Linked DNA regions of Homo sapiens: region 1 is linked to region 2. The links are contacts of gene promoters, found by promoter capture Hi-C in human tissues and cell types (Jung and others, 2019). All regions are on one chromosome and are shown on one strand. Each heading gives the region's core, a stretch centred on a gene start or on the middle of the fragment in contact. The rest is flanking DNA. Distances are from core to core; before and after follow the strand shown. Region 1 holds the start of ALOX15 (arachidonate 15-lipoxygenase). Region 2 holds the start of SMTNL2 (smoothelin like 2).

Region 1 (2,700 bases), core at 136-2,635, 57 kb after region 2:
AATCATTCCGGCTTCAGAAGGGCTTGGAAGGTCTGCAGCAGAGGTGGCGAGGCCGCTGGAGGTTTGAAATGGCTTTTAAAATAGAGAAACCGGGAGGACCGACGACCGCTCCGGCGACCGCAGTTTCCAGGCACCAGAGCTGTGTGGAATGAGGGGCGCTCAGGAGCATCCCCTTAATTCCAAGGAGATCGAGTAGCGGGAACATTTATTGAGCCTTTACTGTGTGTCACCAACTGCCCACCATAGGGAGGAAAAAAGGGAGGAGGGAGCGCGCCTTTCCACCTTCCGTGCCCCGTCCCCTCACCATGGAGTCGCGGGGCCACCTGCTCCGTGCGCATTTTCTCTCTTCCTGGCTCCCTTTGCCCCGCTTTCTCGGAAGCTCGGAGCAAGGGCGTGGAGTGCGGGGAGCAGGGCTCCGCAGGTTCAAGAGGACGCGGGCGGTCGGGGGCGGGACGGATATTGGGCAGGGACGCGGGAGATGCTCAGGGTCTAGAACTGACTGCGCCGGATTCTTGTTTAGAGGGAGGTGAAGAGAGGAAGGAGGCGCGGGTGACACCGGGGGAGGCAGGAGGAGAGGGCTGGGAGGTGGGGAGAGGGGAGGACCTCATCCGGGCATGTTGCTTTGACGTTCCCTGAGACAGACATCCGGATTTGGGGATCTGGGAGAGAGCTAGAGCAGTGATGGGAATTTGGGCTTTCGCGGAAGAAAAAAAGTTAACAGGACCGGGTAGAACACCCGGTAGATGTGACATGAGATATGACGGGAGGTGGGTCGGGAAATCGAGAGCGTTCTCCTGTCTTGACTCCCCATCCCTTCCCTCTCACCACCCACTCCACCCCAGGTGATAAAGCCTGAAAGGTAGAGATCCAACAGCGCTAGCGGTTGAAACGGTTTTTAAAATAGAGAAAGCGAGAGGACCGACGGCGGCTCCAGTGACTGCTGAGTTTCCAGACAAGGGAGCTTTGTGCAATGAGGGGCGCACAGGAGCATGCCCTCAATTCCAAGGAGATCGGGTAGCGGCAACATTTATTGAGCGCTTACTGTGTGCCACCGACTGCCCTAAAGCCCCCCACCCCCGTGGCCTCCGCGCGCTTTGAGCCCAATGCGCGGGCCCTTGGCAAAGAGAATCGGCCAGAGGCCAACGGGGGCGCATGTCCTCCCCGGTATTTGACTGACTCGGAGCCAGGGGCGCAGCCCACCCCGCCCGGCTCTGGGGAGCTCACCTTGCCCCGTGCGGGCCACAGTCGCTTCCCGAGCGCCGCCTCCCCGTGCTGGCCGACCAGCCACAGCTGCACCTGGTTGTTGGAACCGGCATAGAGCGAGGCCCCAGTGGACACGCGGATGCGGTAGAGACCCATCTTGCTCAAAGATGTTTCGCTCCTTCTGGTGGAGAAGGGTGGACGAGCTAAATAACCCAGCCTGAGACCCCGCCCTCTCGGAGGTCGCTTGGGGTCGGAATGTGGGTGGCAGGTCTCCAATCAACTCCGCCTACCGCTGGGGCCCCCAGCTCCAAGGAGCAGAGCTTCAAGGGGCAGAATTCAGCCCCAGTCCAAAAGGCGGTGTCCTGGCGAGAGCAGGGAGTGGAAACCACTATCTTGACGGGAGGGAGAAAAAGAAAAGGATTTGGACCGAAAACACGCAGGAAGAGGGAATCAACGCCTGGTACAGCAGGCAGGCGAGGTGGGGGTAGGAGTTATGCACGTGTGTACCACGGACTTTGGGCCAAGCCTGGGTGGCTGGGAAGCCAACCTCCATCTAAACGCACGCGTGCACACACACACACACGCAAGGACACGCGCGCGCACACACAAGCCTCACAAGTTGGATTGCAGGAGAGGGTGAAGTGGGCGAGGAGACCCAGTTTGCAGTGGCATTTGAGGAAGGTACATTCAGGCCACGGAATTCATTCGACCAGCTTTGCACACTTGCCTTCTCTGTGCCAGCCACTGGGACTCATTCCTTTTGAGCATAAAAGCCGCTGCCTCCCTGTTGCCTGCAGAATAAAAGTCCAAATGTTTCTGGCATTCAATGCCCTTGCTAACCTGACCTGCTCTCCTCACCTCTCATCCCACTGCACCCTGGCATCTCCTGTGCTGGAGCCATGTGTTCCCCGGAACCCCCCCTCCCCCCGCCGCCCCTGCTGTTCTCTCAAAGAACTCACTTCTGGGTTAGTCTGGTCATGCTTCTAAACCCTAATTCGTCTCCAGTTTCTTTTTGGGCTGGAGCCATGTGTTCCCCAGAACCCCACCTGCTGTTCTCTCAAAAGAACTTGCTCCTGGATTAGTCTATTCATCTATTCATGCTTCTAAACCCTAGTTCACCTCCGGTTTCTCAGGAAAGTCTTACCCGGTACTTTCACCCCCCACCACCCCACCAGAGTGAATTAGCTTTCCTTTTTTTTTTTTTTTTGAGATATAGAGTCTCACTCTGTCACCCTGGAATGCAGGGTGGAGTGCAATGGCACGATCTCGGCTCACGGCAACCTCTGCCTCCCGGGCTCAAGCAATTCTCTGCCTCAGCCTTCCGAGTAGCTGGGATTACAGGCGCCTGCCACCATGCCTGGATAATTTTTGTATTTTTAGTAGAGACGGGGTTTCTCCATGTTGGCCACGCTGGTCTTGAACTCCTGACCTTGTGATCCACCCACCTCAGTCTCCCAAAGTGCTGGAATTACAGGTGTGAGCCACGGCGCCCGGCCC
Region 2 (2,700 bases), core at 194-2,693:
GCAGCAGCAGCGTCTCTGGAGGCTGCTACTAAAGATTCCACCTGGAGAAAGCATTCAGGGAGCAGTTTGGCTCACCCTGTCCAGATGGCTACCTGGAATGCACACACATGCTCACACATATATGCAGCATGCACACCTTTTGGCATTTGCCTTTTTCATGAAATAATTGCTGGAAGGCTCCTTGGATTAGGTAACCCAGCGTTCCTTCCTGTCCCCTTGGGGCTGGGGGCGGGGGAGAGAACCAGCATTTAGCATCTGTCAGGCTGCTCCAGTTCCTTTGGGGCAATGATGGCCAGTCCAGGAGGGTTTGTGGGCTCCAAACAACCTTGGGAGCAGAACATGATATGAACAAGCCTTTCAGACTTCTCCTTCCTGCAGGTCAGCTGGCTATGCATGCCCAGCCTCTGGGCCTCTTTCAGGCAGGCCAGGCTTGGGAAAAAGAAGGCCAATTAGGAAAGGTTTTTTGCACAAAGGAGGATATGTTCTCATTTTTATTTTAAATCAGCTTTATGATATAGCGAAAACTTAGAGTTAGCTTTGCCCATCATCCCATCGTCCTAAAGCAACACCTGTTTCCCTTCTTCCCTTTTCTGGTGATGGTTTGGGGTGTGCATTTGGAAGGGGGAACTATCTGGGTTCAGCCATAAAGAGCATTGAGAAGGAATAGGGGTAAGACCCCTGGCCTACGGGTAGAGGCCAGTGACTGAGACTCTCATTGCGGGAGGGGGCGATTAGTCGCAAAGCCGCCCATTCCAGGATTTGGAGATGCAGCTCCAGCACACCCTTCTTTCTCTGTCTGCCCTTAGCCTCTCCAGGATCTCCTAACGGAGGCCCCTTGGTGGGTCGGGAGCCTCTACCGACCACTAGTGGGAAGGGCACGAAGATCTTGCTATACAGAGTAGGACTGGGAGGGGACAGCGCGTAGTCGCAGAGTCAGGGAGGGGACCTCACCACCTGTCTCCTCCCTGAGGTCTTAGAACAGATACAAGAAATTCCAGGCGAAGGTCCCACAGGTGAGCGTGTGCCTGCGAGAGCCGTGGCCGCTGCATAGGGAGGGCCCCGCGGAGTGGGGCGGCAGCTGTGGGAGCTGTAGGTGTCCCCATTAGCCCGGGAGTCTCCGCCCCCGGAGGAACCTGGGCCTTGCGGGTGAGAGTCCCGAGCGAACGCGTCAGCCCGGGTGTGCTCTCTACGGTCCAGGGGGGCCAGGGCCTTCTTCGGGTGGGCCCGCCGCCCCTCCCGCAGGCCGCACGCCGCTCCTCCGGGGTCGCAGGGCTCAGTTAAGAGCCGGGGAGGGGAGAGGCTGGGCGAGCTCTCCCTCCGCACCGTCCCGCTGGGCTCCAGGGCAGGGGGGTGTCCCGGAGTCGTCCCCGGCTCCGCCCCCGAGGCCCCGCCCCGCGCCCGCCTCCCCGGCAGCCCCTCGAGCGAAGCCAGCCACGGACGGCCAGTCGCGGCCCGGAGCTGCGGAGCTCGGATCTTCTCCCCCGTCTGGCCCGCTCTCGACCCGCGCGCTCTGCTGGGCCATGGAGCCGGCCCCCGACGCCCAGGAGGCGCGCACTGTGCGCGAGGCGCTGGGCCGCTACGAGGCGGCGCTGGAGGGTGCGGTGCGCGCGCTGCACGAGGACATGCGGGGGCTGCAGCGCGGCGTGGAGCGGCGAGTGGCAGAGGCGATGCGCCTGGCCGGCCCCCTGGCGCGCACGGTGGCCGACCTGCAGCGGGACAACCAGCGGCTGCAGGCGCAGCTCGAGCGCCTGACGCGCCAGGTGGAGGCGCTGGGCTTGGCCAGCGGGATGTCCCCGGTGCCCGGCACTCCCGGCACGCCCAGCCCCCCGCCCGCGCCCGGGGTTCCCGACCGCGCGCCCCGCCTGGGCAGCGCACGCTTCGCCAGCCACGCCACCTTCTCGCTGTCCGGCCGCGGCCAGGTGAGCCCGGGGGAGCGCGTGCGCTGGCGCCAGGGAGTGGGGCTCCGAACCGGGTGCCGCCCCTTCGCCCCGACTGCCTGCCTCTGCTCGCGTCTGCGGGGTTGGGGCCTTCACCGGCCGCTCGGACTAGGTGATGGGGGTCCTGCCGCCCCTCCGGAGTTGGAGAGGGCGGGGGGAGGACCGCTGAGCCTGCCAGCTGCACCTGTCTTGGTCCTCCGCCCTGTTTTAGAGCCAGGCTCTGTTTGCTCAGAGTCCTGTCTCCCTCTCTCCTCTGTCCCATGACATCAACGGCTTGGGCGCCGAAGTCCGGCCCCTGACTGTTCAGCACTGCCTGGAGCCACGCGGGGCATGTTGGAATGGTCGACACCCCTGCCTGACCCCCACCCTCCATTCACGCTCCCCTGCGTTGCCGCTTCACTGAGGCCTGACGGCTCTGGTTATTGATTAACTCAGATTGAGAACTCAGGCCCCTGGATGGGTGGGGAGGGGGGTCGAGGGGGACGCGATCAGCAGCGGCTTTTGGGAACTCTCCATCGCAGGGGGTAAATCCCTTACCGTGAAGGGAGAGAGGTGGAAACCCGCCTTGAGCCGTGTCTAGATTCCTCGGGTCAGTGACTAGCCAGAGGCCCACACCACGTGGGGATAGGGCGGAGGCCGACGTGGACCAGTCACTACCTTGCGCATGGGCCACCCAGAGCAGTTAGAATGTGTCCATGGTGTGTGCAGTGGCCCTTGGGTGGGATTTTCCATCCTGATCAGGCATGTGCTCTCGGGTTGGGTT

Evidence for each region. Contacts are between HindIII fragments. The study calls those that stand out against the background at their distance.
Region 1: the fragment with the promoter of ALOX15 here is called in contact with the fragment with the promoter of SMTNL2 in region 2 in 9 of the 25 tissues and cell types used here (IMR-90 fibroblasts, bladder, dorsolateral prefrontal cortex and 6 more).

What each region holds. Positions count from the first base shown.
Region 1 is chr17:4,640,293-4,642,992 of GRCh38, forward strand. It overlaps ALOX15 (arachidonate 15-lipoxygenase), which reads right to left and starts at 1,386. Exons shown (of 14, transcript NM_001140.5): 1 at 1,225-1,386. The coding sequence starts at 1,359. The HindIII fragment of the contact is 22,491 bases long and covers 1-2,700 here.
Region 2 is chr17:4,583,086-4,585,785 of GRCh38, forward strand. SMTNL2 (smoothelin like 2) reads left to right here and starts at 1,444. Exons shown (of 8, transcript NM_001114974.2): 1 at 1,444-1,919. The coding sequence starts at 1,521. RefSeq lists enhancers at 563-1,182, 1,183-1,802, 2,423-2,700. The HindIII fragment of the contact is 15,336 bases long and covers 1-2,700 here.